Linked DNA regions of Homo sapiens: regions 1, 2 and 3 are each linked to region 4. Evidence: promoter capture Hi-C in 16 types of primary human blood cells and fetal thymus (Javierre and others, 2016). All regions are on one chromosome and are shown on one strand. The core of a region is centred on a gene start or on the middle of the fragment in contact, and the rest is flanking DNA. Distances in the headings are between cores, read along the strand shown.

What was found. Contacts are between HindIII fragments. The CHiCAGO score rates a contact against its expected background, and 5 or more counts as called.
Region 1: a fragment that was not itself captured here is called in contact with the fragment with the promoter of BCL9 in region 4 in 6 of 17 cell types (fetal thymus, non-activated CD4 T cells, activated CD4 T cells and 3 more); the score reaches 11.0 in fetal thymus.
Region 2: a contact is called between a fragment that was not itself captured here and the fragment with the promoter of BCL9 in region 4, in 12 of 17 cell types (fetal thymus, activated CD4 T cells, total CD4 T cells and 9 more). The highest score is 28.9, in fetal thymus.
Region 3: a fragment that was not itself captured here is called in contact with the fragment with the promoter of BCL9 in region 4 in 10 of 17 cell types (fetal thymus, activated CD4 T cells, total CD4 T cells and 7 more); the score reaches 15.8 in fetal thymus.

Annotation. Positions count from the first base shown.
Region 1 is chr1:147,661,335-147,668,558 of GRCh38, reverse strand. The region is part of intron 1 of ACP6 (acid phosphatase 6, lysophosphatidic); the gene reads left to right. Among named protein-coding and RNA genes, the nearest start is that of ACP6, 5.6 kb to the left of the region's middle. The HindIII fragment of the contact is 406 bases long and covers 3,177-3,582 here.
Region 2 is chr1:147,609,591-147,616,752 of GRCh38, reverse strand. BCL9 (BCL9 transcription coactivator) reads right to left here. Exons shown (of 10, transcript NM_004326.4): 4 at 4,864-5,175; 5 at 3,554-3,870; 6 at 2,137-2,326; 7 at 851-950. The coding sequence starts at 4,916. It overlaps LOC128071544, which reads right to left and starts at 5,163. Exons shown (of 1, transcript NM_001414892.1): 1 at 4,957-5,163. The coding sequence starts at 5,163. The coding sequence ends at 4,957. RefSeq lists an enhancer at 4,029-4,323. The HindIII fragment of the contact is 6,057 bases long and covers 1-4,685 here.
Region 3 is chr1:147,635,997-147,643,423 of GRCh38, reverse strand. It overlaps ACP6 (acid phosphatase 6, lysophosphatidic), which reads left to right. Exons shown (of 10, transcript NM_016361.5): 10 at 1-1,194. Among named protein-coding and RNA genes, the nearest start is that of ACP6, 31 kb to the left of the region's middle. RefSeq lists an enhancer at 1,569-2,070. The HindIII fragment of the contact is 8,089 bases long and covers 1-5,917 here.
Region 4 is chr1:147,535,619-147,543,299 of GRCh38, reverse strand. It overlaps BCL9 (BCL9 transcription coactivator), which reads right to left and starts at 1,799. Exons shown (of 10, transcript NM_004326.4): 1 at 1,626-1,799. RefSeq lists enhancers at 1,754-1,813, 1,374-2,128, 1,847-2,141. The HindIII fragment of the contact is 5,169 bases long and covers 1-1,890 here.

The sequences.
Region 1 (7,224 bases), core at 2,130-4,629, 120 kb before region 4:
GGTACAGAAGGACTGGGGAATCACATGTAGGAATATATATTATATTCACGTAGAAGACAAAAAATTATCAGTGGTAATGGAGAGTAAAACTTTGAATGTGTAGGCCTAGACCTAGTATGTACCATATATATATATATATATATCCTGAAGGCACTAGGAAAAGATTTAGATTCTTTTAGGGCTTTATCCCTAAGGGAGAGTGGGTGTGTGATGGATATCTTCTGCCTTTATGGTTGAAAGGTCCGTTGTAGCTTAGGATACCAGCTTCATTCATCTTCAATCTGTGTAGCCACAAAATAGCATCTGAATCCATGGCCTGACTTTGCAATTAGAGAAGGCATATTACCTCTCCTTTCTGCTCATATTCTCCAGACTTTAGACAGATGCTTTAAACGTCTTCGGCTCTCTAGTATAAAGTTGTGTGCATGAAAATCAGGGGTGAACCAACTCTCTTTCAATTTAGGCTATGAGCAAATATTAGCCTCTTAAAACTTGTTTCTGGATAGTCTCTGTCCAGTGTTCATTTCAAGATCCAATTTGATAGAGGTTGTTATTGGGATTTTTTTTTTTGAGACAGAATCTTGTTCTGTTGCAAGGCTGGAGTGCAGTGACGCGATCTCGGCTCACCGCAACCTCCGCCTCTCGGGTTTAAGCAATTCTCTTGCCTCAGCCTCCCGAGTAGCTGAGACTATAGGTGCACACCACCAGGCCCGACTAATTTTTGTATTTTTACTAGAGACGAGGTTTCATCATGTTGGCCAGGATGGTCTCGATATCTTGATCTCATGATCCGCCTGCTTCAAGTCTCCCAAAGTGCTGGGATTACAGGCGTGAGCCAGCACCCGGCCGTTATTGGGATTTTTTAATCTTCTTGGTTCTGCTATTAATTATAGTCAGAAGGGACTGCCTGGCAAAAATTTTTTGTCTTTGGTACATGTTTCCTGATTTCTGACTGGTTTATAGATTAATATATGTGACAAGTCACTTCATTCAGCCATCTCACAAATTCTCAGAAAGTAGCATGATTTAAAACTAGATGTTTTGGCTGGGTGTGGTGGCTCATGCCTGTAATCCCAGCACTTTGGGAGGCTGAGGCAGGTGGATCAAGAGGTCAGGAGTTCGAGATCAGCCCGGCCAAAATGGTGAAACCCCATCTCTACTAAAAATACAAAAATTAGCCCGGTGTGGTGGTGGGCGCCTGTAATCCCAGCTACTCGGGAGGCTGAGGCAGGAGAATTGCTTGAACCCGGGAGGCGGAGGTTGCAGTGAGCCAAGATTGGGTCACTGCACTCTACCCTGGGTGATAGAGCAAGACTCCATCTCAAAAACAAAAACAAAAAACTAGTGTTTTATTGGGTTGTTTTCTTATGGCTTGAATGGCTGTTGGTTTAACCTGTTTTGCTAAAAGATTGTGCTTTGGAAATAAAAATATAGAACTTGATTGGCCATTTTTTTTCCTGATCATTAGAGCAGATCCAAATGCACTATCAAAAGAAAAGATTTGGCACTGCTTCCAGGCTTCCCTCAACTCCCCTGGGTGTCAAGATGGCCTCCACCCAGGGAGATTCCTCAGTTTTTATAAAATAAAGTCCAACCTACCCCAGCTTCACTGTTGATTAAGACATTTGGGTCCCTATTTATTTGACAATATAGATGAGCTGGGAAGCATAATGTAAGAATCTTTTATTGCTTAGTACCTTTCCAAAACTCAGCTAAAAGAAGCGGTATTCAAGAAGCATTACATGAGGTCCACCCATTCTTCAGGATCGATGGTTCTTAACCGTGGTGAACATTGGAGTCAACTGGAAAGCTTTAAAAAATACACATGCCAGGGTCTCCCTCCGAAGGATTCTAATTTAATTGGTCCGGGGTATCCAGATAATGTAAAAGACTCTCTGGTGAAGCTTGAGAATTATCTGGACTGAAGAGCATTAAAAAAGTGGAGGCCCCACTTTTTTGGGGGATAATCCAAATGCGGTTATCCCAGGTTGGGACTCAGGCATCAGTAACTTTTAAAAAATGTCCTGGTAATACCAGTATACAGACAAGGTTTAATATGATTGCTTTATTTTAAAATCTACACCTGGGAGGTTTTTGTTTACTTTTATGTAGATTTGTTCTTTTACCTGGAATGTAGTATATCAATCCCAGTACAGAATTGCCTTCGCTGAAATGTGCTTTGGTAAGAGGTTATCTTTCTGTGTTGAGAGAACTAGGAGAAACAATCCCACAGAACTCATTGCTGTGACTGCTGAAAAGATGTTCATTATATTACTCTATCCTCTTTATGAGGACCCTTGGGAGGAATTTGTCTGTTAGCATTAGGAATGGTGTGCTTCTCCTGAACAATTGGCTTGCTTTTTTCTTTAAACTAGTCTAGCTGATCAAGTTTGTTTCTTTATGTAAAAGTCAGGAAGCTGGGTGCCAAGTCTGTGGCCCACCTATAGTAAGTAAACAGATCTTCATGGTGTACATATTTTAGTAACCGTGTTACTGCATCCATTTCTTTGTCCCTACATTTGTTTGCTTTTGTCTTTCTTGCCTACTTTGAATTGGTTGTCTTACTATATTTTAATTTTTGCTATATCTACTTTATTACCCCTTGAAGAGGGGTATACACAAAATAAGTAAAATTATCAAGTTAGTCTTTGCCACTAACTGGGAAGCTTAAGAGCAGGAATGAGAATGAGAGTGTGTATGTGGGGTGGACACTATTATATGAAACTGATGTATCATCCATTCTTGAAAATCTGAAAACTGTACTTTAGACTTGACGTGACCTGGACTCCAGACTCCTAGGAGACGCCAAGGGTCCTCTCTTGGTGAATGTGCCTAACAGATTTCTTAGTGAGGCTGAATGGCCCTGTGGAGCTTTGTGTCAGGCCCTGTGGTGGACACTGGAACTACAAGGATGGATAATTCAGTCTTGCCTTTAAAGGAGTTTCAATGTGATAAAGCAGAGACAACAGATATCAATTAAGGCAATATGCTGGGAGCACTGGGAACACAAAGGAGGTGTCTCCAAATGTCCAAAACTGAAATCAGCTTTCCACCTGTTTTTCTGTCTTGGTCTTAGTTTTAGTCAAGGAATATCTCCATTACAAGGCTCAAAAATCAAAGTAGTCTCTTTTTTGTTCTTCTGTGTTTACCTACCAACACAGTCCCCACATAAAGCTTTTATTTACTCACTTGCCAAGTCTAACTCAAATGTCTTACATCTACCTCCTCTATTGTTAACTGGCTTAGATGAGGCCTTAGGCTCTCATGTGGACTATTGCTAACATCTCAAAATGGGCTTTTCTGCATCTAGTCTTCCCATTCCAATTGTGATGTATGCTGCCAGGTTTCAGATTTATTCTGTGGAGCCTGTGGGCTAAGAGGATGTTGAGCGGCTGGGGCTGTGGGATTCCCTCCTACTTCAACTAGAGAAATTCGAGTTTTTGCCTTTATACATACAAATCTAAAGTTAAACTTTATGTGGTATTTTCTGATTTAAAAATTGGAAAACCATTCCCAGGTTGAGGCAAACCAAACCACTTCTTTGCCATACACATTCTTTACCATCTCTGCTTTGCGCAAGCTTTCTAGTTATTTTTGGAATTCTGAATGTCACCCTTTATAAGTACAGGTATTTGCTTGTCTAAATACTATTCATTTAAAATGCTATTCCCTCAATGAAACTTCTCCTGAATCCCCAGCCAGAAGAGAAGGTCTGTCTTGCCTTTGAACTGCTATGGCCTTCATATGGTTTCTTGCAGCACATGTCAGCTTCTATTATGGTATTGCTGTCATTTACATTCACAGCTGGCCTTTTTTCTTTACTAACTTGAACACCCAGGAAAGGCAGGGTCAAGTTTTCTCAAGATGGGTATCTTCCACAGGAGCTGGCAAATTGTTGGAGCTATTAATTGTACCTACTGTGTGTGAGGCCCTTTGCTGGGAAACAGAAGTCAATAGATGACCGAGTCTCTGTTCTCAGGAAGCCAGGACAGACCAGTAAAGGAGCTCGTTTAATACACTTTGGTAAAGGCTACTAAAGAGAGCCACTGAAGCTACTGTGAAAGCATAAGGCCATGACCAAGGTTTCTGGGAACACTTAAGCTAAGTCTTAAGGAATGAACAAAAGTCTTTCTAAATGAATGAGGAGAGAAAATTCCAGGCATAAGAAACATGATACTGAAAGGCCATGAAATATGAGAAAGGAAAGGAAGTTGCGTGGCTAGTGAGTAAGTATGTAGAATAGGGAAGAAGTGGTAAGGGGGCTGCTAGAGAGGAGGTGGGGCCACATGAGCCATGAACCCTCGAAGGGTTTTTTTTATCCAGAGGGGTTAGAGGGTCAGAAAGAGGGAGCAGTGATTAACTGTGAAAGAAGGAAGAAGGCCTCTCTGTGAACACCTGGTCCTCTGATGTGTCAGAAGGAGGTTCAGGTGTTGGAGACCAGGTGCCAGTGGGACTGACACATGCCTTTGGGAAGAATGGAGGGCTCCCTAGATGCCAAGAGAATCTGAGGCTCCCAGTACCATTCTCCTGGGATAGTTCGGGGAGGGTAGAAGATAAATATGACGATATGTGACATAGTAGGTTTCCAAATGTTAGTTTTAAAACTAAACAAAGTAGTAGGAAATTGAGTTAAATTTTTTTTGTTATCAATGTTATAGGAATTCAGATTTAAAAGATAACCATCAAAAGCCAGAGTGGTCAGTGATAGGGAAGTAAGACTTGAGCTATCCTTGAACATTGAAGACAAGGTGATGGGCAGATAGGAACAGGAGTCCCTCCAAGCAAGAGAAGCAAGCTGGAAGAAGATGCAGAAACAGTGGGCAGGTTCTAGGTTGGAGGGGAGGAAAGAGGCAGTGAAGCTGAGTACAGGGGCTGGACAAAGGGGGTAGAAGTCCTTTTTTAAAATTTTTTTAAGAGATGGGGTCTTGCTGTGTTGCCCAGGCTGATCTTGAACTCCTGGCCTCAAGTGATGCTCCCACCTCAGCCTCCCAAAGTGCTAGGATTACAGGTATGAGCCACTGCACTCAGCCACGATGTAGAAGTTCTTGAAGGACAGATGCTTTCCTCTGAGACATTAGGAAAAAGTTACTGATATGATGACACTGGCTTAGCAAGATTAATTAGGTGATTTTGAAACATACAATGCATTATTATTTATTGTAGTCACCATCCTGTACAATAGATCACTAAAGCTTATTCTTCCTGTGTAACTGAAATTTTGTACCCATTGATAAAAATCTCTCTTTCCCCATTTACTGCACCCCCCCACCTCTGATAACCATCACTCTACTCTCTAATTCTGTGACTTTGACTTCTTTAGATTCTACACAGACAAGCATACCTTGAAGATATTGCAGATTCAGGTCTAGACCACCACAATAAAGCAAATATCGCAATAAAGTGAGACCCACAGTTGTTTTTTGTTTCCCAGTGCATATAAAAGTTGTGTTTACACTCTTCTGTATCCTATCATGCAATAGCATGTCTAAAAATGTACATACCTTAATTTAAAAATGTTTTATTCCTAAAAAGTGCTAGTGATTACCTGAGCCTTCAGTGAGTCATGATCTTTTTGCCAGTGGAGGGTCTTGCCTTGATGTTGATGGCTGCTGACTGATCAGGGTAGTAGTTGCTAAAGGTTGGGGTGGCTGTGGCAATTTCTAAAAATAAGACAACAGTAAAGTTTGCCACATTGATAGACTCTTCCTTTCATGAAAGATTTCTCTGTAGCTTATGACACAGTTTAATAGCATTTTACCCACAATAGAACATCTTTTGAAATTGGAGTCAATCTTCTCAAACTCTGCCACTGCTTTATCAATTAAGTTTATGTAATAAATCCATTGTTGTAATTTCAACAGTGTTCACACTATCTTCACCAGGACTAGATTCCCTCTCAAGGAACCACTTCTTTGTAGTAACTTCTCATGCATTCAAGTTTTATCATGAGATTGCAGCAATTCAGTCAGAACTTAAGGTTCCACATCTAATTCTAGTTCTCTTGCTATTTCCATCACATCTGCAGTTACTTCTTCCACGGAAGCCTGAATCTTCAAAGTCATCCATGAGGGTTGGAGTCAAATCTTCCAAACTTCGCTTAATGTTGCTATTTTGACCTCCTCCTTATAAATGTTCTTAATGACATCTAGAATGGTGAATTCTTTCCATAAGGTTTTCAATTTACTTTGCCCAGATTCATCAGAGGAATCACTATCTAGGGCAACAATAGCCTTACAAAATGTATTTCTTAAATAATAAAGACTTGAAAGTCAAAATTACTCCTTGGGCCATGGGCTGCAGAAAGGACATTGTGTTAGCAGGCACAAAAACAATATTAATTTTGTACATCTCCATTAGCGCCTTTGGGTGACTAGGTGCATTGTCAATGAGCAGTAATATTTGGAAAGGAATCAATTTTTTCTTTTGAGCAGTAGGTCTCAACAGTGGGCTTAAAATATTAAGTAGACCATGCTGTAAACAGATGTCCTGCCATGCAGGCTTTGTTGTTCCATTTATACAGCACAGTCAGAGTACATTTAGCATAATTCTTAAGGGCTGTAGGATTTGCAGAATAGTAAATGAGCCTTGGCTTCACCTTAAGGAAACCAGCTGCATTAATCCCTAATGAGAATCAGCCTGTCCTTTGAAGCTTTGAAGCCAGGCATTGACTTTCTCTCTAGCTATGAAAGTCTTAGCTGGGATCTTCTTCCTATATAGGCTGTTTCTTCTGCATTGAATATCTCCATGTTATCAATAAGGTTGTTTCACTTTCTCATTGTTTGTGTGTTCACCAGAGTAGTACTTTTAATTTCCTCCAAGAACTTTTCCTTTGCATTCATAACTTGGCTGTTTGGTGCAAGAGGCATAGGTTTTGGCTTATCTTAGCTTTCTACATGCCTTCCTTACTAAGCTTAATCATTTCTAGCTTTGGATTTAAAGTGAGAAACTTGAAACTTTTCCTTTCACTTAACACTTAGAGGCCATTGTAGGGTTATTAACTGGACTAATTTTAATATTGTTGTGTCTCAGGAAATAAGGAGGCTCAAGGAGAGGGAGAGAGATGGGGGAAATACCAGTCAGCAGAGCACTCAGAAAACACACAACATTTATTGATTAAGTTTGGCATCTTATATGGGGGCGGTTTGTGGCGCTCCCAAATAGTTAAAATAGTAACATCAAAGATCACAGAGTTCAGGATCAGCCTGGGAAACATGGCAAAACCCT
Region 2 (7,162 bases), core at 408-2,907, 74 kb before region 4:
TCACCCAGGCTGGAGTGCAGTGCAGTGGCACAATCTCGGCTCACTGCAAGCTCCGCCTCCCAGGTTCAGGCCATTCTCCTGCCTCAGCCTCCCAAGTAGCTTGGACTACAGGCACCCGCCAGCATGCCCGGCTAATTTTTTGTATTTTTAGTAAAGACGGGGTTTCACTGGGTTAGCCAGGATGGTCTCAATCTCCTGACCTTGTGATCCGCCTGCCTCGGCCTCCCAAAGTGCTGGGATTACAGGCATGAGCCACCACGCCCGGCCACTGTATGCTTTTTCTAATGGAGTTTATAGCAGGTGCTTAAGATCCAGATAGAAAACAGACTAACATTTATTACAATTTTACAAATATCAAGCAATTAAAAACATTCAATGGTCTTATCACTTTGAAATAAATATGAATCACTCTGAAAGTCGATGAGGCTCTGATTATGATACTGTCATCATGTACTCTAGAAGTTTTAATTGTTGCTTTTTTTCTGTTCTTTCTTTGTTATTCAACTAGCTCAAGAGTGTTATTTTTAAAAAACCTGCTCTGTACACAGGGTCTGAATTTAGATTTTCCCAGAGACGATTACATGAAGGAAACCCAAAGATATCTGTATAGCTCCTCTTTTAGTTTGCATCTTCTTCCCCCTAGTAATTCATCAATCTACCAGCTTTCTCGTAGAAAAGGCTAGTATAGTATGATATGCCTAATGCCCCACAATGCCAGAATTAGGTTAAATGCCAAGAATGCAACTCATGCCATCAAGACTACCTTCCTATCAATTAAATTCACCACCTCCTTTCCTTTGCAGTCACTGTAGAATCATTAAACCATTACTCAGTTTCTGAAACAACATACCAGAGGCGCTGTGCTTCTCTCTGTCTTGTTGTTAGAAATGTTCTGGATGTGGAAAGAGACGATAGTTTCAACCTGGCCCTTCAAAACAGCTTCTGCAGCTCTGCAAAGATGGAAGAGACAGCACACACTAGAACTTGTTTCTATTTCACTAACTGTAATTCCAAAGCACTTTAACCACACAATAAACTTGTAAGGGAGAGGAAGGAATAGAAAGAACCACCAGAAATGTTGAAGAAGAAATCAAGACAAACATGTTTCATTATTTATATTTACCACTTATCATCAAACTTCTAAAATTAAAAGACAGCCATTAGCAAATCCCAAAAGAGGCATTAAAAGACAAAAACCAAGATTTTCTCCTGAAACTAATCCGCTGTGGTAGGTGTTTTATAGAGAATCCGAGTTCAAAATCCCAACCCAAGAAGGGGGAAGATGAGATCGTACAATACCTAGTGATAGTTTAAGGCTGTTAAGATTCACTTTTTATCTTAAGTGGAAAAAAAGTCAGAAAACCATATATGTAGGGTATAATCACAATTCTGATAAATAAAAATTGATGCATCCATCCACTAAAAATTTATATATAAAAATGTTTACAGTAGTTATCTCTGTGAATTCCAGAGATATTAATTTTTAGTTATACTTTCTAATTATTCTAGAATGGACATTTGTTACTTGTGTTGTTTAGAAAATAATAATAGGTAGGTTGCAGAAAAGTGTGTATTGTGCAATCAACTTCTTCTGTTTAAAAGAGGTATATATGGCCAGGCGCGGTGGCTCATGCCTGTAATCCCATCATTTTGGGAGGCTGAGGCAGGCAGATCACCTGAGGCCAGGAGTTCAAGACCAGCCTCGCCAACATGGTGAAACCCCATCTCTACTAAAAAATACAAAAAATTAGCTGGGTGTAGTGACGGGTTCCTGTAATCCCAGCTAATCAAGAGGCTGAGGCAGATGAATTGCTTGATCCCAGGAGGTGGAGGTTGCAGTGGGCCGAGATCTGCCACTGCACTCCAGCCTAGGCGACAGAGACAGACACCATCTCAAAAAAAAAAAAAGAAAAAGAGATATATATGTATATTTGTACAAGCACGAAAAATTTCTGAAAGGGAAGCAAAGGATGTATTATCAGTGGTTGCCTCTGGGGGAGTTTGGGTTGGGGAGGTTTTATGTTTTATCTGTACTGTTAACTTTAGGTGATAATAAAAGATCAATCTGCAATGGGAATAAGAATTTAGGTCCCCAGACAAGCCCTGCCCAACAGCAAGACACAGCCATCAACTTACTTATTGGCCATCTCAGTAGAAAACACGTACACCACTTTGGCTGGAGTCTTCTGAGCAGGTGTGGGCTCTGTGGCAGTAGTTTGGCCATGGGAGGGGGTAGAAGACCTGGGGGCTGTAGCATTTGATGGGGTCATCGAGTGTGGTGTGTGCTGGGAATCCTGGGACTTTATGTGGTCAGCAGAATTACATTCTAAAAGAATAAAATGACTCGTCACAGAAAGAATAAAATTTCCTTTCTTCTGCCAGCATATATAGCATCACAACACAAACCCACCTTGAGAATTTCAAGGAAGTACCACCTTGCTAAGAGGAAACCTCTTCTACTTATAAAATTTCAAATACTCTTCTCTCTCAAATGACTAACCATAAAGCAGTCTTCCCCAGCTTCCTTACCTCTCTATTACACCTCCTTCATATATTAGTGTAAATGTCCCTTCTTCTGGTAACCTTTTTGAAACCTCCTAGACTTAACTGGGGATGGATCTCACAGCCCTCTAACTTCTCTTATTTCAGCATTTATCATATTTTACTGTAACTGTCTAATAATCAGCTTTCTAGGTGCATTCAAATCTTTGAGGACAACAGCTGTATCTATCTTGCTGACCATGGCCCCCCAGCATAGTGCTGGCACTCATAGCAGGCCTGCCAAAACACTTGAGGGAGGAGGGGAGGAAGGAGGGGAGAAACAATCACCCAAGTTTCCATTTCTAATTTGGGTTGGAAAATCATACTTCCATTCCTTGAATACTAACTTCATGTTCTGGCCTACAGTTAAGACTTTTGGTCTTATACTAGGAGGAAAAAGCCTAAAACCACAGCTGTTGGTCCCATACCCTTCTTGGCTCACTCCATTTTGGTGCCTGCCAAATCTCTACACATCTGGTAGCCACTCATTCCTGCTACACTAAAATCAGCTGTAACAAATCTGGACTACTGCCAGGGCCATTAAGGCTTCCTCTTGTGTCTGAAGTCTGGCAAAATGGCAACTAGAGAACACAAGACCCAAGCCTTGGAGGATTGCTCTGATGGAGAAGAGAAGGGGATACCAGAAAAACTACCCCAGTGGGGGCCACTGGCACAGACAAACTAGAGCTACTGGCTTGAAACTAAAGTACAAACAGCATAGAGGCCAGAAACGTGTACGAACAGGGATAGGCCTGTGAAACATCCTACCATAACCCCTAAACCGTTGCATCCTTAAGGGCAAGAACTCCTCAACTAGGAGGTTCCAAACAATTCTTCAGTTAGTAACAAAATGAGAAGAAATAGTTCCATCATAAACTGTGAGAACTCATGAATCTGATACCTACTCTCCCCACTTGTCTGATATTAGGCTCTCTGGCCTCTGTCGAATGTCAGAGGCCTTCCCTCAGGAACACCTACTTCCCTCTGAGTCTCAAAGATCTTATAGACATACCTTTAATGTCAGAGTCATCGTTTGGAGTCCCAGGATCTCTCTGATCAAAGGAGTCGGCGGAAATACTTCGCTCCCTTTTCCCCTTGCCCTTGGCACCATTTCCAGCCCCATTCTTCAGCCCCATGCTCCCACCTGGGCCAGGGAGTGCTTTAGGGGTATGGCCCCCACTCTTGGAGTCACAGGGGGATGGCTGGGATTGGCTGGCTGAGCCCCCCTGTTTACCCTGATTGGAGAATTTGGAATCCAGCTGGGGGTTTCCAGATGGGGACATCACTGTAGGGGGACGGACCATCACCTCCTGCTTTGACTTAGGGCTACTAAAAGAAACAAATAACAAAGGAAGATCAGACACCAGATACAGCTGGTCAGCACAAATTAGAGAGAGGCAGTTTCTATTGGGGGTCAAGGAGACCCTTAGGACTAAAATAACCACCCCATGATTCACCTCAGCCATTTGCTTGCTCCCGCCACCCCTGATCCCATCTCAGAGCTATCAACAGAGAGGAGGATCAAGCAGAGTGGCCTGCCAGGTTTCAGGAACCCTACAGTCACATGGGGACCCATCTCCAGGGCTTCTGTCAATAAAGGACAACGGTTTCTATGTACATAGAGAGGTGACTCTTACACTAAGACTAGCTCAGAGTAAACAAACAGGCATCGTTAAGATCAAAATACTACCCACCCCCAGGCTGATGACAAGGAACAGCTGTAGGAGAGCCTCACTTCCCTGCTGGAAAATGCAAGCTGGTCCCAAAGAGCACGGGAGCTGGTGACTGTCAGGTTAGGGAAATCCTCCAGGATACTAATCCCTCCCAACAAGCAGTATTACACCAAAGCAGATAAACCAACCACTGCCCTCAGGGAGTGAGGACAAAATTCTTTTAAAGTAACAATTTAACTACTGTGAAACCGAGGAAAAAGTGTCACAGTGGGAGTCCGGGGAATAACGTTTTAGTTCTACGACATTAGGCTTCCTCACCATTCCAGGCCTCAGTTTCCTTGTTTGCAAACTTAGGCAAACTGTACTGGTTGGTCTCTATGGTCCTTTCGTTTGTGCTTTGGCAGGGAGGTGCGGGGAGAGGTCAGGGAATGATGGACAAAAGAATAACAAAGGAAAACTCTAACATAAGCTTTGATTACACTGTATCCTGCTTACTGTTATATTACTATTTACTAGTCTATTTTCTCTTCCTTTCCCATTTGGGTTTCATTTATTTCTAATTCAACATACTGTTTCACCAATGAGTGTTCATGATGTGCCTATGGCATCCCCAAGGGGCTGCAGGAAGAGGCCCCAGCCCAGCCCTTACCTCTGTGTGTTTCCTGATGGAGAGCTCCTCACTTTAGGGTTACTGGAATGCATTGATTGAAATCCTGAGCTTGCAGTCACAAACGGGACAGGCTCACCGAGTTCCTCTCGGGTTGCAGCAGAAACAGCTGCTGGGGGCAGTGGCACTGGCCCACTGCTTGCTGGGTGCGTCCCTTAGCGCTCGCTGCCTGTATGCCTTTTTCCTCTTTGTTTTTCTCTGCTGTGGAAGTGGGTCCTTTCCCCTTGCAGCTCCAGCATTCTCTGGGTGCGTGCCTCCTGCTGCCAGAGGAAAATCTCGCATCTCCAGGGCATACTACAGGAAAAGGCCACCCAAAAAAAGTTGGGAGCAAAAACAGAGACATAAAACACCCTCACAACAGGATCAAGGTGAAAGCACTAGCCAACTCAGCGAAGCAGCTAGACCATGCCTCCACTTCCATCAGGGTGAAAGGGTGATGCTCCCATTGTGGACAAAGGCTCAGGGGCCACACCAGCTGGAGGGTGACTAGGACTTCCTGCCAAGCATGCAAGCCTCCCCCGCAAGCAGCATGGACCAGGCAAGGGTGAGCAGGTGAAAAAGGCAGTTTTCTCTTTAGCTATGTATTCTCCCTTACATTTCTGTAGTTTTGAATACAAAACCCTCAAAAACTTGTGTCTTTCTTTTTTCAAAACAATGCTTTGAAACCCCTAGGTACCGCAGATCCATAGTGACTATCTGGTGTTTCAGTTCTGATGGCAAACAACAGCACTGAAATGAAACAACCCCCCCAATTTCAAACCATGATGCAAATTAATCTATGTTTACACTCTCAGGGCCTTGGGGGCGGGGGGACTTTAAAGGAGGTACTTCTGAAATCAAATATTGAACCAACATCAAATACAATCAGTTCTGCCCCCTGATTTCCATGATCTTTCTATTAAATTATGCCAAGTATGTGTCTAGTGTTCTCACTGCTTAATGACAGGGACTGCAGGCATGGGTAAGCATGGGAATGATCCATAATTCTGAAAGTAAAAGAACATCTTTGAAGGCTAAGATATTTTTTGAGCCAATTTGCAAGGCTAATTTGAAGCATAAAGGTCAAGAAAATATTCCCAAACCTAGCTAGAGAACAAATGAGAAAGTCCTTTATTCAGGGAAGCCTAGACAAATTCAGGTAAAACCAAGACATACTTTAAGTCTCTGCTCCCTCCCAGGGTAATTCCATTATGGTTTTCTTGTAACCACTATCCCATTATCAACCCCCTTCCAGCTTCTAGTATCTTACTGACAAAGTATAGGAATGAAGGAGGAGAATATTAGGTGCAGGACTAGTGACTACAGAACCAAAGGGAGTTAGAAACAGCTCAGGTGTTGCAGCTTACATGTACTTTGAGAGAATGGAGACTGGGCTAAAATTGGGAGGATCAATTATATCCTAGGTTGTAGCACTATGATCACTGTCACATGTTAAAGGTCTATTTCTTCATTTAGAAATCTGCAATAGTCTCAGCTATTTTACCTGGGACAGTGAAAGAAATTTATGGAAGTTCTGAGTACACTCAATTAAATTTTTTCCTTTTTAAATAAAAAAGTCAGGAAAAAGAACTAGAATAAAAACATTATGAATGTTTCTATGCTGACCTCAGGAGACAGCATGTTAAAAAACATTTTGGTCTTGATCATATTTAAGGTTCTATTTTTATCCCCATCAGCTTCCAGCTTTTTTTTTTTGGTTTAGACTAAGAAATGGATTCTGGTTGTCAAGTTGGACATATATAATCATAAACCATTTTGTAACCTCTCAATGAACATTAGAAATCACTGGGAAAATAGAAGTAGAAAATGAATCCTGCATGGACAAAGCCATCAGAAAACATTTACCTCAGGAAAAGAAAAGCAGTTACCACCTATATAGTCCCCCTCCACAACTTCTTCTAGTACTTTCTGTCTGCATCACGTATTCTAGCACTCAATCACATGTCGTACTGAATAATACTAGGTGTATATTTTATCACCCTGTGAAAACTATATTCTTAGAAGCCAAGAACCTTGTTTTAAAGTTCTTTTGTTTTTCTATAATACTCAGCATGATGTACTAAGCATGTAGTTAGATCCTCTGTGACTTATTCAAGTTCTCCCATAACAGAAACACCTGGCATTTGTGTTACACACGTCTTCCAAAGAAACTCAAAACATTACAATTATCAAATCACCTCATTAATCTGCCAAGCATTTATGATGAGCTGGTAGCAAAGATTATTTCTAATAATAATGCTGTGAACATAAAACACTTTTATTTTCGAAGTACTTCTACATA
Region 3 (7,427 bases), core at 624-3,123, 100 kb before region 4:
TGTCATGGGCTGAATTGTGTCCCCCCTAAATCCATATGTTGACATCTTAACCCCTAGTACAGTAAGTCCTCACTTGATGCTATCAATAGGCTCTTGGAAATGTCGGCTTTCAGTGAAAGGACATATAGCAGGTCCTTGAATAACATTGTGTTTTGTTCAACATCGTTGCCTTGTAACACTGATGAGCAAAACAGTTGGTTCTCTAATATGTTGTTTTACTTAAAGCTACAGTTTCCAAGAACCTATCAATGATGTTGAGGACTGAATGTACCTCAGGTGTAATGTATTTGGAGATAGGGCCTTTTAAGAGGTAAAGTAAATGAGGTCATATGGGTAGGCTGTAATCCAATATGACTGGAATCCTTATAAGAAGAGGAAATGAGGACACAGACACAGAGGGAAGATGACTATCTGCAAGTCAAGGAGAGAGGCCTCAGAAGAAACCAATGCTGCTGACACCACGATCTTGGACTTCTAGCCTCTAGCACTGTGAGGAAATAAATTTCTGTTGTTTAAGCCACCTAGTCTGTGATACTTTGCTACGGCAGGCCCTAGCAAATGAATACACTTGTCTTGTCTTTCCCCCGCCCTGTGATATTTATCAGTGCCGGATATTACATATTTGTGTATCTATATGCTTATTTCCCTGACTAAAATGGAAGCTCCATGAAGGCAGATTTCCTCTTGTTCACTGATGTGTCCCCAGCACCTGGAATAGTGCCTAGTGCATGCCAGTGCTCAGACACTTGGACATTTGAATGACATATCCCCTCTGTCACTTCTCTCCGGGGCCCAAGGCCACCCTCCTAGGTTACCACAGTGGCTTCCTAATGGGCCATACCCTCACTTGCTTTCCATCACCCCCTGAGACCTGGCCCCTGCATACCTCTCCAGCTTCACCCCTCACATATCTCCCTAGCCAGACCTATAGTATGTTTAAAAAAAAAGGAAATCGCACTCCTCTGGCCTCTTTACCTTGGCACACATTTTTCCATCACCTGACCCCTGACCCACACTCCCTTTTCCTGTGTAATCCAATTATCTCTAGGCCTCCCGTGTTTCTGTTTGTCCTTCAATAGAAGGTTGTTTGTCTTGTCTTTTATTGTATTTCTAGAACCAAGTGCAGAGACTGTACAAAGTGGACCTCAGCAAAGATTTACCGAATGAATAAATGAGTTCAGAACGCTGACTTAACTCTTCTGTTGGCACCCAGGTGGCTTCTATGCACTCTCCTTCCACTCACCACCAGGGGGAAGCATGGAGTAAAGGAAAACACCAAGGCTTTCGCTGGGTTCAAATTCTGACAGCGTATTTATTTCCTTGCAACGCTTGGACGGGTGTTTCTGAGCCTGTTTTTCCTCTCATGTAAAAATGGGCATAATGATACGTACTAATTAGGGTTGTTGTGAGAATCAATTAAGGAAACGTATAAGTGCCTTCAAGTATTCTTATTTTCCCTTTTCTCTTTCATCTCACTTCCCACGAGATTCTTAACTGTGGTAGGTTTCGCAAGCCAAGGGAGCCTTTGGGGATGCTCCTCTGCAGGCAGCGCCCCGCCTCCGCCTGCCCTTCCCGGGGCACTGTGCCTGTGTGTGCAGGAGATTTGTACAGAACCCTGGCTCCCTCACTCACCAGTTGTGTGACTGTGGGCATGTCACTTAATTTCTCTGAGCTTCCATTTTCCCAACTATAAAGCGGGGAAGTTAATGTTTATCTACCTGATGATTTGTCCTGAGGATGGAAAATAGGGTGTGAAAAGCTCTTCATAAATTCCTAACCTGTCCCTGCCTTGACTCCTTTCTCTAAGGGGCCTCAGAGTGCTGTTGAGGTTTAAAGAATTCCCACAGGAGGCTCTCACCCGTGTATGGCAAAGTGAAAGGCTTCCCAGGACGGAGGAGAGCCAGGCTTGCCAGGGAAGGCCGACTTCATCTGCGGCTCCCCTGATAGCTCTTCCCGAGGGCCTCGTGGCTTATCTTACAGAGCTCTTGGCTCTGGCAGGCCCTGGGATGAAGGACTGTCATTAGACAAGACCCTTCACTGCCATGTGCCTATTCCCCTGTAACAGTTAGTTCCACGTGGATCGTTAAAAACTGCAGCAAGGGGACAGAAACCCTGAAGGGCCCAACTGAAGAGGGAGGAGGAGAGAGTTCCCGTCCCACCCTCCCCTAGTCCTCGAAGCACCGGGACCTGGAGTGCTGACCTGTTTATTTTCATTGTAGGAAACTCAGGTCTTTGTCAGTGGCACCTGGCACCCCTTTTCCTCAGCTGGAATCCTCTAGGGCACCGCCATCTACCTGCAGAGGAGGCTGGGCGGGCTGTGGGGGGAGGGGTGGGCTAAGGGCACCTACCCTGTCTACAACATGCCAGGAAGGGATCATTCTTCGGCTTTGGGCTAGAGCGTGTCCTGGGGCTGCTAGGCAGCGATGAGTCTCTTCTGCTGGGTGGGGAATTCCCCGGGGAGATGGCTGTGTGCTCTCTTCAGACCCTGCCCTCTAGTGGCCAAGGGGACTTTGCAGCCCGGCCCTTCCCAGTCCACCCTGCCAGCCTCTAGAAACCTGACCCCTGTCTAAGGCTGGCTGGGGAGAACTGAAAAACACTTTCCCCAGTAAAAAGCTGGTCTTCTCAGGATTCCGCTCTCCGTTTGGCCTTTAAATAAAATGTACCTTTTCCTGAAGAAATTGGGAGGGGGGCAGTGGCCCACAGTCACCATGTCTGAGAACTCAAGAGACCACTGATCTTGGAGTCATGTGCTCTGAGTTCAAGTCCTGCCCTGTACCTACTACCTGTGTGACTTTGGGCAAGTCCATTAATTTCCTGTTGATAAGCCTGTATATCTTTATTTGTGCAATGGGACTCTAATATAGCATCTCCCTCATGGAATTATCCTAGGAATGACATAGATTAGGTATGGAAAGCACTTCCTAATATGAAAAGTGTTATACAAATATAAGCCATTGCTCCTGCTATGCCAGAGGAGCCTCTTTGTGGCTCCTCCGGAGCATTCCTCAGGGCTGTGGGCAGTGGGTGCCTGCGGACCTAGATGGCTTGCCCCTGGGTGGTAAGATCTTGGTGGCTGAAGACTAGGCTGTTTCAGGGGTGTTTAAGCCACATGAAGGATGCTGAAAGAAGCACCTACCTTGGAGATAAGAGCCAGGGATTTGGATTCCAGTTTTACCACTTTCCTGGGCCCTGTGACCTTGGGCAACTCCTTTAGCATGGCAGAGTTTCTGTTTATCCACATGGAAGGATGGTGATACTATCTGCTGGGGTTAGGGGAGGGGGATGTAAGCAAAATAACCATGTGAAAGGGTATGGAAGGTGCTACCTCCTCAGATACAAGTTTTGAACCTGCATCTTCTTGTATTTGGGGCTTAAGGAAACTAGGGTCCAGCAGCTTACTGTAAGCCAAGAAGTTTGAGTTGCTCTGTGTTGTACAGAGATTTTTAGAGAAGGCAAGTATGTGTGCTTTGAAATCAAAGGAATAGCTAAGTCAAGCAGTAAAGGGAGTGTGCCGGGAGGCTGGGGCCAGTGTTGGTAGAGCTGTTTATATTGGTAGGAAAGCAGGGCATTTTTCTCTGAGGCAAGCCTTTCACAAAGGAAAATCTGGATTTGAGAGAGATTAAAAGTCTCAAAGGTAGGGGAAAGATGTAAGGAAATGGCCTGCACTGAATCACTGCAAAGGACAGTATTCATCAGAGAATTAATTTGGAAGGAAATAGAGTGTGAAATAACAGCAAGGCTTTCAACTCTGGGTACCATGGCCTTAAAAACCCAAGCAGTGCTTCAGAGGCTTGCCAGGACCCAGCCTGGGAGCTACCTCCGGAAAAGCAGCTGGGGGATGCCCAGAGACCACAAATTGCTGAGCTTGGGAGGAACTGATTGAGTGTGTAATTAAGGGGAGGGTTGTATAACACTTGGGTAAGTAGAACTTGATGGGGTCAAACCAGCAGGGCTTTTGGGAGATGAGAGAGCAGTCCCTGGAGCTGTTAGTAACTGAAGCCAGCTGCATAAAGGTAGGCACAGCTTACCTGGGCCTTGCACAGAGAAGAATGGAAGAGATCAGGAAGGGGAAAGGTTGAAGGAATGGTTGTTCTCTAGGTCAAAAATTCCAAAATGCTGAATACCTCAGGGGTTCAGTTCTAGGAGTAAGGTAACATTATGGAACAATGGGGAAATATCCCTGGAAACTGAAGATCAGAGAGCCTGTGGCTTGGCCAAGGTCATATAGCACCATGGAGATTTAATGGATTCTGAACTGCGATTGTACATCTTGGCCAGGTGGCTCACACCTGTAATCCTAGCACTCTGAGAGGCTGAGGTCAGAGGATCGCTTGAGCCCAGGGGTTCGAGGCTAGCCTGAGCAACATGGCAAAACCTCATCTCTACAAAAAATTTAAAATTCAGCTTTACGTGGTGGCAAGTGCCTGTAGTCTCAGCTACTCATGAGGCTGAGGTGGGAGGATCACTTGGGCGTGGGAAGTCAAGGCTGTGGTGGCCCGTGTTCGTGCCACTGCACTCTAGCCTGGGTGACAGAGCAAGACTCTGTCTCAAAAAAACAAAAACAAAAGCAAAAACCAGTGTATTTTTCTGTGCCACACTGATGGTGAAGACTGGAAGGTAATGGTTTGGAGTATAAAGGGAATGTCCTTTGATCATGTATGGGGATCAGGAAAGGAAATTGTTCGCAGTATATTTGTGGACAAGATGGGTATGTATGGGCTGGATACTGAAGCAACTAGGCATGTTCACCACTGGTTAAATTACTGGAGCCCCAATCCCTGGTATACAAGGCCTCATGGAATAGGCCCCCTGCCCACCTCTCCAGCCTCATCCTCCACCACACTCCCTTTTGCTCTCCCGCTAGATCTCAAGGAGTTGGCTGCCTCTTGTCATTTTAGATCTCAGCTTAAATATCACCCTCTCTCACATGGGAATATATGTATATACATATATATTTAATTGAGTGTTTATTTCTACAGAGACACAGTAGAAGCCCAGTGGTTAAACACACAGGCTCTACAGATAGACTACCCAGGTTGATGCTCCATCCTTTAGGATCCATATGACCTTGAGCAAGTGACAACTTCTCTGCATTTTAATCTATAAAATGGGAACAAGAAGAGTATTTACCTCATAAGGCTTTGTGAGGAATAAACACATAAAGCATTTAGAACAATGGCTGGCACATAGGCAAGCTAAACAATATTAGCGATTATTTGTTTTTAAGTGTTTATTATCCCTTGTAACCTTCTCTGCAAAAAGCAGGAACCTTGTCTGGTTGGTTCACTGCTGTATGCAGTGAACATGCTGGATGCTATCTGTAGATCATAACCTGGCATGTAGTAGGGACTCAATTTGTACTTACTGAATGAATTTGCTGAATTAATAAAGAAACTAATTCAGTGGTCAGCTGTTCTTCAGGGAAGTGTTCCATGTTGTATGATAGGCCTTTGCCCTGTTGGACACGTTTTTTTCAAAGATTTGCATAAAATACAACTGAGTAAAGATACAGGGTGCAGACTGGCCACATTTACTGAAGACATACAACTGGGGAAAATCACTTACTGGATGACTAATTGAATGAATGAATAAATGATAGATGTCTTAGATATGTTTGTGCTGATATCAGTTTTAGATCCTAGGCCAAATATTTTAAGATGGAACTTAATGGAGACAAATGCAGAGTTCTGATCTTGGGGCCTCAAAATCAGTTGCCCACAACTGAAGAGGGGTTTTAGTGAGGGATTTGTTCAGTGTGAATCCATAGTATGATGTGTTCCTCAAAATCCTAAATGTGCAATGGCTATCCTGGTACTGGAATGAAGGAAGTGATGTTCCATCCTGCACAGTTCAGAGCACAGCCAGGGAACTGTTCTCAGATCTGAGAGCCAGACTTGGTAGCAGAGCTAGACAAGCTTGTCAATTGGAGAAAGACCATCAAGAGGAAGGGATCAAAGAGACAGAGGGCATATCAAATATTTGATTTATGTGGGCACTGAGGACCACACGCAGAACAGTATTGTGTAAGTTGCAGGGATGTATAGACTTGAGATCAACATAAGGAAAACCTTTGAAATAATCAGAGCTGACCATGGATGAATTGGGCTACCTTAGAGGGTTCTTTTATAAGCTTACACTGGCATTAGGCAAAGTATTGTAGAGGGTCACACACGGGCCAGTCCCTGCCTACCATGAGAATCTGAAGTTCTAGGATTCCACAGCATCCTTCATTCTCTGTGAACAGTTTGAGTCAGAGTCAGGCCTCATTTTGCTTTTCATGTGGTCAGGGATGGAGTTTGGTCCTCTAATTAGATGATTCTGAACTTTAAAAGCAGGAGGAGAGAAGTGCTTGAGAATCTGGTGACCCCAGTGTAACCTTATTAAAGTGTTGCTGTTATCCCCACCTTGGGCTGGCTGGGCCTGGGGACTCCAGTAGCTCTTGAAAATGCCTTCCTGCTGTGGCCACCACCATCCCATCATGGAATTTCCACTGTGGTGCTTCTTTCTCTATGGCTTTTCTGTGCTACCTTTCAGTGCCCAGGAGGGCAGCAAGAGGGGTCCCTGGGTGTCCCTTCTGAAAGAAGAATCATGATTTTCTGCTTCAGCTAGAACCCTCTTACTGCCCAGCTGGTGTATCTTGTGAGCTTTCTAATTTACCAGAGCAGCCATTTCATATCTTTTTGCATTACAGCCTAAGGCATCTCTCAAAAATGCTCTGATAACTCATACTAGGCATACACACATGTTGTCCGATAACAGTTTCACAAAAAGCCTATGACATCCAAATGTGAAGCAGCCAGCTCAAAGAGATCAAAGTCAAATATCCAGGGAGAGGCAGAGGCAGGACTCAAACTTTCACCTTTGACCTGAGGATCAGCATGTTTTCCTTCCATATCTGCACATCTGGCTTCCGGGATGTGTCCCTTTGTCTCTTTGCTTTATCTGCTTCATCACACATGGCACCTTTCTCCTTTCACTTCTGGTATCTTTCTTTCCCCAAAGCTTACCGCTACCTGTGCTTCAGTTCCTGTCCCGCTTCTTGTGATCTTCCTGCCAAAGATGGCAGGACTTCTTTTGTGTCCTCAATCCTTCCCACTCAATTGGTTCCTTCCTTTCTGTCTTAAATTAGTAGTACTTCTGTTGTCTTAAACTTTGCTTATTTATATTTTTCTTCTATCTAACCATCCTATTTCTCTTGCCTGGTACTGCCAAACGTACTGAGCATGTATAACTCAGTATCTCTTTGCCTCTTTCACATTTACACCCTTTCCCCCACATGCTTAGGTTTCTCTGTCTTCTGCTTTACCACAGCTACACTCTGGGAGACCAACACATTAATCAATTTCAAGTACCATCGTTAGTTTCCTCACCTTTTTTGATTGATCAGAAGTATTTGGCCCTGTGGACCACCTCCTATTTCTTGAAAG
Region 4 (7,681 bases), core at 550-3,049:
TTTGGACAAGTAGCAGAGTCACAGAAAACCTAGAATTAGGTAAGAAAGCAGAACTCCTCCAGAGAATTCAGAGAGAGCTACAACTGAGAGCCTTTAAACAATCAATGTGTAGGAACAGAAGAAAGGAAATCCACAATTCAAGAAAATAAGCAGACATTTTTTTTCCTCAAAAAAAATTGTTAAGATGAATGTTAGGCACTGATTTTAGCCCTCTGTTCCATCCCTCAAGATGTCACTTGAAAAAGCAAAAGGTTTTATCCACAAAACCACCGGCGAGTAAACAGCCTTCACATTCTTAGCCTCGTACACACACAGTAAGATATTTACTCTCTGATAAACAGCAATTGTAAATAAATCTCATTTAATCTCTAAAAGCCACAATAAAAATCTTTAACCTCCAAGGTAGAGTTTACAGATGCGTCTGCATGCCCTGCCAGCCCCAGAAAACACAAGGTCTTGAATAAACTACTATACCAGGAGGCACATTTTCTCGCTCAAGCATCTTACATTGACCTTCTTTAAAACAAAAATACGTACAAGGAGGAGGAAAGGGGAAAACCCAACCCCTCCCACCCCATTCTCTGTACAAATCGGCCAATAAATCTAACGAAAAGACACAAGAGAAAAAGGACAGAAGCCAACAGGTGGAACAAGGCTTTTTGTTTCCTTAGAAATGCTCAGACACTTGATCTGTGCTCCTCAGTCTATTTGTCTCAGGGTGTCTTTAATGATGTTTTTATTACCCTGATGATGATGATCAAGAATAATGATAACACTTCTACTCTGTGATTCCACAGCATCTCTAGCTGACGATTTCTCCACGCGTTTCAGACACAGTGATCTGTTCTGTTTCGCTCAATCCCAGGGAGGCATACAGCATCCCTGATCAGCAACCTTGATTTTACAGATGGGGAAATTGAGGCACGGGGCACCCCACAACTCAACAGTCTCTACGACCAGAGGAATCCCTGAGACTGGAAAAGTTTCTGGATCGTCTTGTGGCAGAGTTCTCTTGCTCTCCCTTCTTGCCTGCCATGCCGCTCCTCCTCGGAGAGTCTGGGCTGGGGTGGTAAGGATCGGGGTGCCTCCCCTTCACAGCGAGGCACGCCAGGGCAGTGTGTGGGAAGTCCACACGCACACACAGACCCACGGGCACACTGGCACACACAAAGCTCGATGCAATCTCTGCAGTCACTCGGCGGAGCCCTGGCCGGCCCTTGCTCAGCCTGAGAATGCACAGCTCGGAGCCTGCAAGGCCTCCCTGGGCTCTGGGCTGGGGTTTCCCTGAACCAAGGCTCTGCCCTTCTCTCCCTCTTTTCCAGGCTTCCCTCTCTCGCGCTCCCTCTCTCTCTCTCTTTTCCCTCCCACCCTCACACCCTCCTCCCAGCCCTCTCCATCCACCCCTTCTCCCCCACCAACCCAGAGGCACAGATCGTGTTACTGGGGTTCCCTCGAAAGAGGGGCCATCCCCAGTCCTGGATGCCTTGAAAGACTTCCAGGGGCAACGCAGGAGCTCCAATCGCAGGACCCCAGCGCTCCTCCAGAGCAGCGCAGGAATGAGACCCCCACTTCCAGGCACAGGCGAACAAGCCTGCCACCGAAGAAGGAATTGTTAGGGCTCTTACCTTTTTTATGAGGAGAAATTCTGGAGAATCATTTCAGAAACTGAGGGGGGAAAGTGAATGAAGACAAAAAAGACCCTTTTCCCGCAATCCCTGGCCTCCTGGTATCAAGACACCAGGACAACATCAAAGCAACTTAGGGGGAACACTTTAGGGGCCTATTGTCTGCTCTGGTCTGATCTGTTTTTCTTCTGACTCCCCCTCTTGCTGCGGTGACACTTGGTACGGCCCAGGCATTCATGCCAAGTAGCTTTCACACATGGAAGCTTGTCTCAAGCAATTGCTGACAAGCCACAAACAAGACATTCTCCCTCCCTTCTCTGCGCCCCCCCACTCCTCCCCCCTCCACCTTTTCCTCCTCCCCTCTTGTCTCCCCTCCTCCTTTCTTCTGAATGCAAACTAAAACTCTCCAGTGACAGGCAGGCTCGCAGGCTTGGCCTAGCTGCGCACGCAGGCACACACACACACACACACACACACACACACACACACACACACACTCTCTCTCTCTCTCTCTCTCTCTCTCTCTCTCTCTCTCTCTCTCTCTCTCTCTCTCTCCTCTCTCTCTCTCTCTCTCTTCTCTCTCTCTCTCTTCTCTCTCTCTCTCAAGCAGCTCAGCTAGTTGCTGCTGCACTGGTGGAGTTAAGAGACAGGAAAAAGCCCAGGCTGAGTTGGGGGCAGGGAGAAAAAGAGAGGGAGAGCGAGAGCAGAGAGCCGCCTCCTGTGTCCTAGTAAAATGGCAGAAGAGAGGTGAGTCCTTTGGAAGAAAAGCAGTGGCCACACACGTGTGCACACATACACAGACTCAGGCCATCTCAGCGCCAGGAAAAGTGAAATAAATGACCCGACAAAGGAAAAAGCAAAGTCCCATTAGCTGGAGATTGGGGGAGTAGGGAGATAAGAGGGTGAGTGGCCCCAGGACTGGGGTTTCTGTTGAGTGGTTAGGTGATTTTTCTTCTTTACAATAGAGAAAAATTTGTTTCCTAAGGATCTAGCCTTCTTTCACTGCATAATTGAGCATGGACTTGAGCTACTAGTTAAAATAAAATCATGAAATGTGTAAATGTGTGAGTAAACTTAACTGTAGGTTCAACTTGTACCCAAGATATTTTTAAAGTGAAGCTTTTTTTATTTTTTTTTATTTTTTATTTTAGCAGAAACCCTAGAGAGCAGTAGCAAGGAGAGTAGTAACAAGTAGTGTAAACTAGGAGAGCTGTGAAGTGTGATGCTAAAGTTACTGATTGCCAGGCTGCTGGAATTTATGGAGGGTGGGCCTGAGAGTTGGAGGAGGGGAGGGTGAGTGTGCTGTTTTCTAGGAATAAGAGGGGAATGAGGTAGGATAATGAATATGGCAAGAAACAAGCAGGAATTTGATTGGTGTGGAGGGAGGAGGTGGGGGCTGTAAAGGAGTGGAGAGAGAGAGAGAGAGAGAGAGAGAGAGAGAGAAACAACACTGCATTAAAAAAAGAAGAAAAATGGAAGCCCAGAAAGATTGAAACATGCAGAGTAAATGAGATGGTAAAAGAAGGCATAAAATGTGAGCAAAAAGGAGCACAAAGGATGTGCAAATTTGCAGATGGCATGAAATCAGGAGGGCCAATTGAGATCAGGAAGAAGAATGACAGGATGATTATATGACATTCATATTTTTAGATACTGTGGACTCACAGACCTAACAAGGTCTCCTCTGCCTAGGCCAGAAGAGTTATCCCTATGCAACAGGATCTGAATGGAAGCTTAGCTCCTAACTGCTGCTGAATCAGTTCTGTACTTTTTCATGAAGATTGTTTAGACTCTATTCCTCAGAATCTTCCTTTACAAAATGGAAATTATGAGAACACACATCACTCATTCCTTCATAGGTATGCAGTAAAGAATAAATTATGACTTCTTTCATACTTAACACCAGCTAAATGAGGTGTCACTACCTAAAACTCACCACATCAAAGACACAGACTTGTTCCTGTTATTTTCCCCCTTAATTTGCTCCTCCATTATCCCTGATCCCTGAACTGTCTGTCCCGACTCCCATTAATGATGATGATGTGGTAATATAATAATAATAATAATAACCTTTTTTTAAGTATTTACTTGATTCTTAGCATTTTCCCACTCATTTGTATCATGAAGTAATTTTTGTTATGATCATTTCCATTTACAGATGATAGAAAAACGAGGCACAGAGAGGTTAAGCAACTTGTCTGAGGTCACACAGCAAGGCAGAGGTAGAGCTGAAATCCAACTGAGGCCTGTGTGATTCTAAAGCCCCAGCGTTTACCCGCCATATTATGCCTTCTCACTGGAGTAGTCCAGGTACTCCATGGCACTTCAAGTCCAGTCAGCCATATAAGTACACTGTTTTTTCTGTACCCCAGGGTTGGGTTTGGATCCTTTCATTTTGAGCCAGGGGAACTTCTGACCTCCCCTTAATAGGCTACTGACTCACTGTCCACTTCTAAGTGGTGGTGACTCACTATACACAATGAGGCCTCCCAGGCAAGAATTGCATAAAGGGTCGACTTAACCTTCAATGACTGCACTATTTTCAGATTGCTAGGCAATAGAGAAAGGCAGCTAAGACCAGAAAAGCTTCCCTTTCTTAAGTATAAAAAATTTTTTTAAATAAAAAAGCAAACTAAAAAGGCCCATAGATATTGATGATAATGGTGATGACAGCAACTAACATTTATTAAGAATTTCCATATATTAAACAACCCCATACAGTGTAAACTATCAGTGTGTCTATTTTCTAGATGAAGGAGCTGAGGCACAGAAGTGAAGGAGCGTGTTAAGGTAATCCAGCCAGGAAGTAGTGGCTGAGATATGGCCCCAGGTGGTCTGCCTTTCTAGAGACCAGGATCCCCACCACTATGCTGTACTGCTAAGGCAGCAAAAAGACTTGTTCCAATTGTTAGAGTGAAAATACAAATGCTCAATGAGAGAAAGAAGAAAGAGGCAATCATGATCCTAACACTTTCACATGCATTTTTAAATCTCATGATATCTCCTATAAGTAGTTAAAGAAAAAGAAAGCATGTGCCCAGGCCCCCAAACAACCTTTAATTTTCCAATTCCTCCACTTGGCAGAGGACAGAGAATGCCAGGCCTCCAGGCCAGAACATGTTGGTAAGAACACCAGGTCAGACTATCTTGCCTCCAGCACTGATGGCTTCCACCTGCCAACTCCAAAGAGAAAAAAGAAATTCCAAGTGGATAAGTGAACAAGGTCAATGCATGAGCATTTCTAAGTTTATTTTACAAGACTTATGAAAGCTAAGCATGGAGTATAGATGAAAATGTCCTAGATTCTTAGGCAGAAGAACTGTGAGCACGAGCCTTGCTATCTGAACCCTATTTCCTCAATTATAAAATAAGCTAATGACATTAGCTCTAAAACCCTTTCCAGTTCTGAAATGCTATCATGCTAATAGTTATCTGGTTGATGAGGAAAAGACTAGAAGCCAGACTGGGCGCGGTGGCTCACGCCTGTAATTCCAGCACTTTGGGAGGCCAAGGTGGGCGGATCACGAGGTCAGGAGACGGAGACCATCTTGGCTAACACGGTGAAACCCCGTCTCTACTAAAAATACAAAAAAATTAGCCGGGCATGGCGGCGGGCGCCTGTAGTCCCAGCTGCTGGGGAGGCTGAGGCAGGAGAACGGTGTGAACCCGGGAGGCAGAGCTTGCAGTGAGCTGAGATCACACCATTGCACTCCAGCCTGGGTGACAGAGCAAGACTCTGTCTCCAAAAAAAAAAAAAAAAAAAAGAAAAGAAAAAGACTAGAAGCCAAGGTAACTGATGAGGTGTGTTTGGCATGTATGTGTGTAAATGCGCTGGAGGGGGTTTAAGGAATGGAACAAGAATTAGACCCTATCTGGGCTGTTCTACCCAGATTGCAACACACCTCTTCCAAAATGCCTTCTACATAATATCCATTTTTCACTTTATTTTGTTTCACTGCTACAGCTCTCACCAATTACAAATTCACTTGCATTATTAATAATTTTTTTAAAATGTAAACACCTCTAGAAGGGATAAGGGAAGTCAGCCTTTCCTACTTTAGCATGAATTATTTCATTAGCCTACTTTTCTACAAATTCCTATATCATATCAAACAGCCATTTAGAGTAGAGGGAGAAGAGGAAAACAATAGTAGGAGCAGGTAGATAGTTTTGTAACTTAGAAGACTCCTTGGTGTACGGCAGGCCTGATTTGGGGGCTGTACAGGGCAGTAGAAAGAGAAGGGACACTAGGAAACAAGACAAGCTGTAGGAGGTGAGAAGATGTGAAAAGCAAAGACTTTCAAAACTTTTATCTAGCCCAGCCCAGAATGAATTGAAGGAGCTTCATAATTCTCCACATTCCCTCTCCCTTTTCCTGCATCTGGCACAGGCTCATAATAGGTTCCTATGGGTTCCCTATGGGACTTAATGTTCATTCAAAACATGGGAGAAATGCTCAGATTTCTAAACAACCAACTTACAAAATAACCTTACAAACTATAGCCCATTCATAATTTGACATCTACCTACATGTATATATTTAACTGTGGAAAAGAATGTAGGAGTGGGACAAATGAGACTTCTCCACATTTCTGGAAAGGTGAATTATCTGACATAAAGGAGAGAATCGAGCAGAAAATCAAGAAACAGATTTCAAGATTTACCAGATAAAGGAGCAATTTAGAGGCTGGCAAGATTAGAACTCACCTAATCTGAAAATAGCTACCTCTTACTAATAATAACTATAGAAAAACATAGCACTCCCCAGTGATTAAAAGCCAAGGTAAAATGGCTCGTTTTGGAATTAAAAGATCCAGGTTCTGATATTAGTGTGCTTACAAGCTAAATGACCTTGACCAAGTCTTTTAACTTTTCTGAGACAGTTTCCAATGAGTTACTATGTAAATGAGCTTTACAAGCAGTAAAGTGCTATACAAATTTTAGCTAGTAATATATAATAATGTTTAGTAAGAATAACAGCGCTATGTGCTAGGCATGTGCCTTACATGCATTATCTCATTTAATCCTTGCAATTCACCCTATAAGGGGAGTACTACTATTGGGAGTACTACTAGTGGTGTTTATGTACTTGGTCTCTAGAGCCAGACAGACATGACATTGAGTTACAGGCTCTGCTACTCTGTGACTTTGGACAAGTTACTCAACCTTTCTGAGCTTCAATTTCTTCATCTGTAAAATGAGGATATTAATAGTACTTTCCTCACGGGATTATTTTGAGGACAAAATGAGATAATGAATGCATGTGACATAATTAGCATAGTGCCCAGTACATAAAAAGTAATGAACAAATGTTAGATGTTATATTTGTTCTCATTTTACAGGCTTGCTGAGGTTAAGTACTTTGTCCAGGGTCACACAGTTCATAACTATAAGGGTCTCAAACCTGGTTCTGTTTGACCCAAAGCCCCTGTTATTTCAGCTGTTTCATATTGTCTATCTTGCTATGGATTTTTCTGACCCACAAATAATTGAAGGGACATACTAATTATCATCATTTGTTTTGCCCTTATTAGGTTCCCATTTGAACAGTTAGTCTGTAAACAAACACTCAAGGAAAATATTTTCTACACAGGGCACCTTAGAGAAATGATGTTAATATTTAAAAATACTATTTGAGGCTGGGTGTGGTGGCTCACACCTGTAATCCCAGCACTTTGGGAGGCCGAGATGGGAGGATTGCTTGAGGCCAGGAGTTTGAGACCACTGTGGCCAACATAGTGAGAGCACATCTGTTAAAAAAAATAAAAAATACTACATCAGCGTAGTGCAGGAAGTTAAATAAAAAGCTCAAAAAATTAAAAAATGGAAAAAATAAAAATACTATTTGAAAAGACCCCTCAAAGTGACCTATGGTAGAGTTCAAGCATCTCAGAAAAGCACAGTGACAAATTCATAATTTAGAACTTAAAAATTATGCATTTAAATTTCATCTTTTTCTCTTCTCAGCTAAGCTTCAGGTCAATAGAGAACATTAAGTGGCCAAAAGCTCCAGTATAGAAGAAAGAACAAGGCATCTGGGTAATCCACAAACTGAA